2 separate regions of the Homo sapiens genome follow, and region 1 is linked to region 2. The links are contacts of gene promoters, found by promoter capture Hi-C in blood cells and fetal thymus (Javierre and others, 2016). All regions are on one chromosome and are shown on one strand. Each heading gives the region's core, a stretch centred on a gene start or on the middle of the fragment in contact. The rest is flanking DNA. Distances are from core to core; before and after follow the strand shown.

What was found. The method cuts DNA at HindIII sites, captures the fragments that hold promoters and counts their contacts. A CHiCAGO score of 5 or more calls a contact.
Region 1: the fragment with the promoter of EIF1AX-AS1 here is called in contact with the fragment with the promoter of SCML1 in region 2 in 1 of 17 cell types (non-activated CD4 T cells); the score reaches 5.7 in non-activated CD4 T cells.

What each region holds. Positions count from the first base shown.
Region 1 is chrX:20,138,492-20,143,292 of GRCh38, reverse strand. It overlaps EIF1AX-AS1 (EIF1AX antisense RNA 1), which reads right to left and starts at 3,325. Exons shown (of 2, transcript NR_046592.2): 1 at 3,058-3,325; 2 at 2,849-2,958. It overlaps EIF1AX (eukaryotic translation initiation factor 1A X-linked), which reads left to right and starts at 1,455. Exons shown (of 7, transcript NM_001412.4): 1 at 1,455-1,668; 2 at 4,671-4,754. The coding sequence starts at 1,653. RefSeq lists enhancers at 1,344-1,393, 1,454-1,723, 2,054-2,213. The HindIII fragment of the contact is 4,524 bases long and covers 1-3,749 here.
Region 2 is chrX:17,736,020-17,740,498 of GRCh38, reverse strand. It overlaps SCML1 (Scm polycomb group protein like 1), which reads right to left and starts at 3,006. Exons shown (of 8, transcript NM_001037540.3): 1 at 2,819-3,006. The HindIII fragment of the contact is 866 bases long and covers 2,611-3,476 here.

The sequences.
Region 1 (4,801 bases), core at 2,076-4,575, 2.4 Mb before region 2:
TTCTTGTTCACGTGGTGTTCTCCCTCTATGCCTGTGGCCTAATAATATCTTCTTGTAAGGACACCAGTCAGATAAGGGTCCACACTAATGACCTCATTTCAATTTAATCACGTCTTTGAAGAACTTATGTCCAAATACAGTCACATTGAGTTACTGGGGATTAGAACGTGAACATACGAATTTTGGGGGGGACACAATTCAGCCCATTAACATTGAGCTTAAGTCTTTTCTCCCCTCCCTCCCTTCCTTTCTGTGTGTATTGAACACCTATTATGTGCCAGACATTCAGCTAAGTGGGGGTAATGGTAAGCAACAAACATGGTCTCTGCCCGGTAAGGTTTACAGTGAGGTAGGACAGACAGACTTAAAGAGTAATAACAAGTGCCATGCAAATATTATGCTTTGGTAATGGATGCCAGGAAAGCCTTGCCCTTCCCATCAGGCTCCCAACCCGGCTGGGCGAGTGAAAGGACTGCGTTATGAGCTAACCGGCTGGGCACGGTGGCTGACGCCTGTAATCCCAGCACTTTGGGAGGCCGAGGTGGGCGCGAGTTGAGGTCACGAGTTCGAGACCAGCCTGGCCAACATGGTGAAACCCCGTCTCAACTAAAAGTACTAAAATTACCTGGGCATGGTGGCACATGCCTGTAATCCCAGCTACTCGGGAGGCTGAGGCAGGAGAATCGCTTGAGCCCGGGAGGCGGAGGTTGTAGTGAGCCGTGATCGCGCCACTGCACTCCAGCCTGGGCGATAGAGCAAGACTCCATCTTAATAAAAAAATTAAAATATTGGCCGGGCGCGGTGGCTCACGCCTGTAATCCCAGCACTTTGGGAGGCCGAGACGGATGGATCACGTGGTCAGGAGTTCAAGACCAGCCTAGCCAAGATGCTGAAACCCCGTCTCTACTAAAAACACAAAAATTAGACGGGCGTGGCGGCACGTGCCTGTAATCCCGGCTACTCCGGAGGCCGAGGCAGGAGAATCGCTTGAACCCGGGCGGCAGAGGTTGCAGTGAGCCGAGATCGCGCCACTGCACTCCAGCCTGGGCGACTCTAGAGCAAGACTCCGTCTCAAAAAATAAAATAAAAATAAAAATATACATATTTTTTAAAAACTGAGCTAACCACGAGGTTAACGAGTCAGCCACTTGTGAAACCGGGAGACGCGCGTTTGCTACAAAGCAGCAGAGGTCTGGTCTTAACCAGCAGCAAGCGCCACCTCAACCCGCCCTTTTCTATGACGCAGAGTCTCTCCCCCTCCCTCCCTGACTCCGCCTTTTCCCTGCTTGAGGCCCTGCCCCTCGCGTCCTCTCTGGCTTGCTGCGCACCCTCCCACAACGCGTCTCCCTCGGCTCTAACAATAGGAGTCAGTCGGCCACGCCTGCGTCATAAAGCCTGGGGGCGGGCCCAGCCGGCGACGGGAGGCGGGGAAAAGCGACGCAAAGAGTCGCGGCGCCATTTGCTGCCGCCGAGCGTGGACGCAGGCGGATCTCTGAAGAGCTGGGTCGCCAGCCTCTCCCGCGCACGTTGCCTGGCCTCCAGCACCTACTTGGTCCCGCGCGCTCCCTCGTGTCGCCCCTCGGAGCAGCAGCCGCCGCGGTCGCCGCTACCCGGAAAGAAGTCAGAGACGCCGCGAGGTCGCCGCCACCGCCATGCCCAAGAATAAAGGTAATGCCGCCCGGACCCCCGGACCACGGCTCTGCTCGGCCGGGTCTCCCAGGTCCTGCCCGTAGATTGCAGGTCACCCAGGCCGCAGTGACCCTTTTTCCTTCCCGCCCTGCCTGCCCGCGGCTGGGCGCCCCACACGCGACTCTGAGCTCGGGAGAGGAGCTGGGAAGTTAACTCCTGTTGCCCAGTTTGGTCACATTGGGGTGGAGCCGGCGCCATTTTTGTAGGGCCTCCTGCGGGAGAATGTGGGCTTTTGCTCCTGATTCGCGCCAGACTGACCGCTGCTCGGTGGGGACGGTGGCGGGAACCTTCCCCGGGGCGGCCTAGGTTTAGTAGATAGGCCCCTTTGGCCTTCCCGGGCATGAGGGGTTATAATCCCTGGAAGCCGTTCTGAACTTTCAGAGTGCTGTCTGCATTCGTGAGCACCAGGTACTCCTGCATGGGTTTCTTTATGGACAGTTCAGTATTGTTGAGGCTACTCGCTGTCCCTTGTGAACAGTGGGTGAAACCTTGATACATTTCTAAGGCTCACCTCTAGAGATTTACTCTCTCCATCCCTTTACAGGATATAGCTTATGTTTGTTTGCTGAAGACTTATTCCATATTGAGCCAAGTTTTCTACTTTTGCTTCAGATGATGCATATGTTGTGAGAATAAAGACCTAATTTAAGTGTCCTCCATTCTGAGGCTAAGCGTTCACAAATGATCAGACTTGAGGATAACTTTATTTGGGATTTCCAAAACGGAAGGCCTAATCTTAAAAAAAAAAAAACAAAAACAAAAAACAGAACACTCCTAAAGAAATTACTTTTATAGATTTACAGTGTTCCTGTCATTTTTAATAGCCGTATAACTTGAAGAAAATTGTGCAAGTAAATATAGGGAAAATACTGTATTTTCCTACAGGAGAGGAGCATACTTCATAGTCCGTAAGTAGTCTCCTTTGATTATTCATTCTAGAGGAAACCCTCCCCTGACACAGGCCTACTTCTGCTCTCTTTTCTACTTGACAGCTGGCTCCAGGGATTCTACCACATTTCCTCTTTGTAGCTGTCACTTATTACTTTATCCCTTAGGGTACTTGGTCGAGGTGTTCTGTGCACAAGTTGGTGCAGTCACTGCTCATTATTTTGGAAAAGATGGAGTTATAAACAAAAAATTTTAAAGTCTTACAGTTTTCTTCTGTATAATCCTTTATTCTCTCTGAGGTGGTAAGGGGATCACTTCCATCTTATTCTCACCTTTATTTCTAGTAATAAGATTTCCAATTCTTCCACCAGGCTGTAAGCTCTACAAGGCAGGAATAGTATCTGTCTTAATCTCATTGGATTGCCAGCACTTGACAATTAGTAGATGCTTAATAAATATTTGTTGGTTTAAGTCACCTACCTCCTGTCGACTCCACCCTTAGTGAATAATAGGTTCTGCTTTGGTTCCAAGGGGATAGGACTTCTACACTAAATCACATCTAGTTCCCTAGCCTCATGTCTTAAGAAAGAGCCTCTCTGGGAATTTCTCCAAAACAACTCTGGTTTAAAGAATGTTGATGTCACTTTAATTGTTGTACACTCAGACCTAGTCTCATTCATTCAACAGAGAATTTAAAGAACATCCCATTACATGGCAATAAAATACAAAGGGGAGTGATCCGGGTATGGTTAATTCTGGTAAATTGACAAGTAATTAGTCTTTTCTTAAATAACATTTGAGGCATACAAAAAATACAGCTAACATGATATACCTGGGAACCCATTACTCTGAATTTAAGAATTACAGCGCAGATTGAGGTAAAGCCCTAATCACCTTTTACTCTCTTTTTGGAGGTAATCACCAGGCTGAGTTTGGTGTTTATCATTCCTGTACTGTCTGAAACCAATCAGTTCTTAGTTATCTTACTTAGAGGAATGGTACTTTTCATGACCTAATTTAAGTGTCCTCCATTTTTTTTTGCTGCTTCCAAGCTCTTCCCATGAGTCTCTTAGGGTCATTACCACTTACAGCCTTTTTCCTGCCTTTTGGAAATGGCTGCCAATGTGGTTTCCTTTCTGGAATGGGAGCAAAATGCTGTGGAGAGGTAAGCTTATGTGGGGGCTAGGGGCAAAAAAAACATTGTGACTTTGGTCACCCCAGCTTACTGACTGTAATCAGTGAACTGATTTACTCACTGAAGCTAAGCGACTTACTTAACTTCTCTGAGCTTCAGGGAACTCATGGGTAAACTGGGAATAAATGAATGTTATGACCTCATGGGGTGATTGTGACAAGTAAATGGGCAGAATTATTGCATAGTGGTTAAGAGCATGGTCACTGGGGTCATATAATAGAAACAGGGATGTTGAGTAGGGACCAGCATTATAAAAGAAAGTAAATTGGGTACCGAACAGATCTTCTTTATTTTTTAAGAGACAGTGTCTCGCTATGTTGCCCAGGCTAGCCTGGAACCTCCTGGGCTTGCTCAAGTGATCCTCCCACCTGAGCCTCCTGAGTAGCTGAGACCCTAGGCGCACACCACTGCACCCAGTGAGATTTCAATATTTATGGTACTCTGCTACCAAAAGTTTGAAAACCACAGTTCTCTGTCCAGACACTGTCTTCACTTAATTTTGAAAGTATCGGGTTCCTTGCATAGGGCCTGGCTTTAGAAGACACCCAAGATTTCCGCTTAGAAGAATATGTATAGAATTGCATTTTTATTTCAAAAGGATGGGTGCTAAAGTGAAATGTTTTTCTATATTTTTTAACATAATATCTGCTATTTATGTGTATTTTATGTCAGAAAAATCCCCAAAGGAAATTCCAAGAAGGGTAGGGAGGTGATAATGTGTTAATGTTGGGATTGGAGATTGTAAATTTAATATGATTGTGTAGCTAAAATAGATGAATTTTTTAATTTAAGTGATCTTTTAAAAAATGGTTTTATAAGCCTTAATTTCATTTTATTTCATACTGTTTTACAGATAATTAATGTCATTTACCTCCTTTTCTTTTTTTTAAACCATCAGGTAAAGGAGGTAAAAACAGACGCAGGGGTAAGAATGAGAATGAATCTGAAAAAAGAGAACTGGTATTCAAAGAGGATGGTCAGGGTAAGTGTTTTCATAAATTACGCTTTTTAAAATAACATCCTTTCTTT
Region 2 (4,479 bases), core at 1,757-4,256:
AAAATGGGAATGATAATAGCACATACCTCACGGAATCGTGAGGATTAAATTAATACATGTCAAGTGCTTAGAGTAATGCATGGCAAAGATAGCAAGGGCTTTTGAGTATTGACCGCATCTATCCAACAGAACTATTTCTCAAGGAGCACATAGACAACAAGCCTGGGTCATAACGTCATTTTCATTCACATTGCACCTGAAGTGAGTTTTTATGTCTTTTAGGTACCAGGGTATGATGCAAGGAGCTGGGCTTTAGTTATAAACACTTGAATCCAAGTCCAAATTGCCAAATTTGCCGTTTCACTTTAGGCAAATATTTCACCTCTCTGTGCCTCAAATTTTCTAACCTGTAAAGTTGGAATAATATCTACTTCACAGGGCTATTTAGGCCAAAAATTACACAGTTAAACTCTCAGCATCATGCCTGGTTCATAGTAGACACACCATAAATTTTAATTCCTTTTCACTTCTTCCCATAAGGCAAACAATTACAGCTTTACAACATTGCCTTAGAGCCCAACCATGACTAGAATGTGCAAAATTAATTTCATTTTTAAATCTCAAATCCCACAAAATGAGTTTACTTAAAATGAAACTCATTTATATTTACCACAGAAATCTAAATTTCTTTTTTTTTTTTTTTTTTTTTTGAGACAGAGTCTTACTCTGTCACCCAGGCTGGAGTGCAGTGGCATGATCTCGGCTTACTGCAACCTCTGCCTCCCGGGTTAAAGCAATTCTCCTCCCTCAGCCTCCCGAGTAGTTAGCGTAACAGGCTTGCACCACCATGCCCAGTTAATTTTTGTACTTTTAGTAAAGACTGGGTTTCACCATGTTGGCCAGGCTGGTCCCGAACTTCTGACCTCAAGTGATCTGCCCACCTCGGCCTCCCAAAGTGCTGGGATTACAGGTGTGAGCCACCGCGCCTGGCCAATTCTTGATAACACCATAAATTTAAGTTCCTTTTCACTTTTTCCCACAAGATAAATTACAGCTTTACAACATTTTCTCAGAGCCCAACCATGACTAGATTCTACAAAATTAATTTCACTTTTAAACCTCAAATTCCACAAAAATGAGTTTAAAGGAAACTCATTTATATTTACCCCGGAAATCTAAACTCTTGATAATACCACACATTTTAGTTTCTTCTCACTTCTTCCCACAAGATAAATAATTTCAGCTTTACAACATTTTCTCAGAGCCCAACCATGACTACACTGTGCAAAATGAATTAATTTCACTTTTAAATCTCAAATCCCGTAAAAATGAGTTTACTTAAAATGAAACTCACTTGCATTTACCACAGAAATTTAAACTCTTAATTACACCATATACCTTAATTCCTTTTCACTTCTTTCCATAAGATAAATCACAACTTTACAACATTTTCTGAGCCCAACCATGACTAGATTGTGCGAAATTAATTAATTTCACTTTTAAATCTCAAATCCCATAAAAATGAGTTTACTTAAAATGAAACTCACTTGTATTTACCACAGAAATTTAAACTATTCATTACACCATACACTTTAGTTCCTTTTCACTTCGTCCCACAAGATTAATTACAGCTTTACAACATTTTCTCAGAGCCCAAGGCTAGATTGTGCAAAATTAATTAATTTCACTTTCAAATCTCAAATCTCGTAAAATGAGTTTACTTAAAATGAAACTCACTTATATTTACCACAGAAATCTAAACTCTTGATAACATAAGAACAAGAGGCCGTCTGATTTTCTAAAAGACTTTTTTTAGACATTAAAGACATTTTCAAAAGTCGTAAATATTCGCTCCGGAGGCGCAAGGCTTTCACCTGCCATTAATTCATCAGATAAGGCACAGCTCACAATGAGGCGCCACTCCCACCGGGACCACTTTGAGGAACACACAGCAAAACGCTCTGTTTGTTTTAAGAACAATCACTTTCTAAACCTTCCTGCGGGACTCTCAAAGGCAGCCCTTCCTTTGCCGCCAGAACCGCATCCCATCGCCCAGCACTTGCCGCAGGCCGGACAAGTGAGGCCCAAAAGGGCACCCAGCCCACGCCCCGCTTTAGAAAACACCGCGCGGCAAAGCTGCTTGGAAAATCGCTATCTTTTAGTCAACCTGAAGCCAGTTTGCCGCACTCGGGGAGAGCCGGGGAGAGGAGGGAGGGACGCGATCCGCCACCAACCAAATCAGGGCCTTTCCTGTTAACGACCACGCGGCAAGGGGGCCGGGCCCTCGCACGCCTCGACGGCCTCCCCCACTCCAAAGGGACTCCGATTTCGCAGGATCTCCCGCCTCCCGCCTCTGCTCCCAACACCCTACGTTTTTCTCTTCCTCCTCATTTACGTATTTACAATAAAACAGCGAAGCTGCACAGTCTGTCTCTAAATCAAACGCGGTTACCATCAAAGCCTCAGACTCTATGTCTCAACCGCAAAAGGTCTGACAGGAAATCAACTCGGGAGTTTGTCAATTCTTTAAACTCAAAGCTCTGTTAACGAAATCTGGATCCTTCCTCGCTCCCCACCTGCCTCCCCTGACAGGAGAATGACTGTAAAAGGATCCTGTCGTCCCCGAAAGTCAGCACCAAGCACTTCACAAATTGTCAAATCTCAAAAGCTTACACGCGCGGGCACTCCGGAAAGGCTGTGGGGACCACCCAAAGCACCCCCCTCCACACCGCGGCTGAAATTGGAGGCTGCGAAGTCAAGACTCGCTCTTCCCCGCAAAGCAAACCCTCTCTCCTCAGGAGAGCCCCGGCCCCTAAGCCAAATCGTGTATTCCCGTGACGGAAAGTTCAAGGTGAGGAAAAAGTACGACTGGACAGACCTATTTTAGTGACAGAGCCTGTCACGCCGGCCTCCGGAGGTCGCGGTAAAACTGCTCGCAGTAGTCCTGCCTCTCCGATGGGCGACAGCTGTGACCGTTAGGCCACTCGACGCTTCGGAAAGGTCCTGGCACCGGAAACCGGGCCTGGTCACGCGCACGCGAGACCAGTGATGCCCTGACCCCTGAGTGGATCAGAGAGCTCCCGCGACGCCGAATTCCCACACTCGCGGTTGGGGGGGGGGGGGGGGGGGGGGGGGGCGGGACTACCCGCTGACCAATCGGAGTCTGGCCACTGACAGGCGTCACCGTTGATCGGCCAATCCGCGGGTGCTCTCCCAGTCCTTGGGTGAGGGCGGGAATTTGCTAAGGAGATGGCTGTGGGGCGGGGCCGAGGGCGGGAATTTGCTGAGGAGATAGCTGTGGGGCGGGGCCGAGGGCGGGAATTTGCTGAGGAGATGGCTGTGGGGCGGGGCCTCTTACCTCAGGTTTTCCTTCGCAAGACCCGCAGGATTGAAAATGGACGTTAGGCCTTTCAGAGACTCGCGCGCTGAGTGGTTTCTGCGGCTGCGCAGGAGGCTGGCGCGCATGCGCAACCCTTCTAGTGGCGTTGTAGTTAGGGACGTGGTGTCCCCCCTTCGTTGTTGGGGTGTCCGAAGCTTTTTTTTTTTTTTAATGTGATCCCGCCCCTCCCCCGCGCTCTGTGACGCACCAGAGACGTCGTCGTAAACTGGGTTTCCTGGACGCACGCCAGTGATTGACTTGGAATGAGGAGAGGGGCGGGGCCTTAGCAGTTGCCCTGAGCCAGGTCTGGTAGGAAGGGCGAGGGGGGCCAGGGTGGGGGGCGGGCAAGATATTTCCAGTCTCCAGCACCCACAAGTTGGACTGGGGAACTAACGCAGACCTTGAAGGCAGATTTACTGGATTGGACCCCCAGCTCCAACACAGTCCTCCTATGGCCTTAGGCAAGCCAAGTAACCGCTTTGTGCTTCGGTTTCCCCATCTGTAAAATGGGTATAATATGGGGACTACATGAGTTAATGTATGCAAAGCACTTAGAACAGTACCTGGCATAGAATTTTGCTATTGTAATAAAGGCTATGTGACATCATCTAGTGGCATATAGTCTTACATACTTATATCGAGGCTGCTCATCTTGGGAAGGAGACACAGTCTGAGTAATTATCAGAAGCAAAGCAGGCAGATATTTCAAAGTAAAGCTATACATCTTTTCTTGGCCCAGAGAGGAGCTACAAAGAAAGTATACTGGACGTTGGAAATGTATCATTTTTCCTCTCAAATACGAAGCTAGATTAAAGCCCATTATAGATATAGTATATGTTTTTTTTTTGTTTTTGTTTTTGTTTGAGACGGAGTTTTGCTCTTGTTGCCCAGGCTGGAGTGTAGCGGTGTGATCTCGGCTCACTGCAACCTCTGCCTCCTGGGTTCAAGCGATTCTCCTGCCTCAGCCTCCAGAGTAGCTGGGATTACAGGCGTCTGCCACCATGCCCAGCTAATTTTTGTATTTTTAGTAGAGACGGGTTTCACCATGTTGGACAGGCTGGTCTATGTTCTTTTTGCTCCTACTTTTGCCATAACAGACCCTGCCCTTATGTCCTGTTGCCTGTAAAACACTGTTGCGAAGCCCCAAGAAATCAATTACG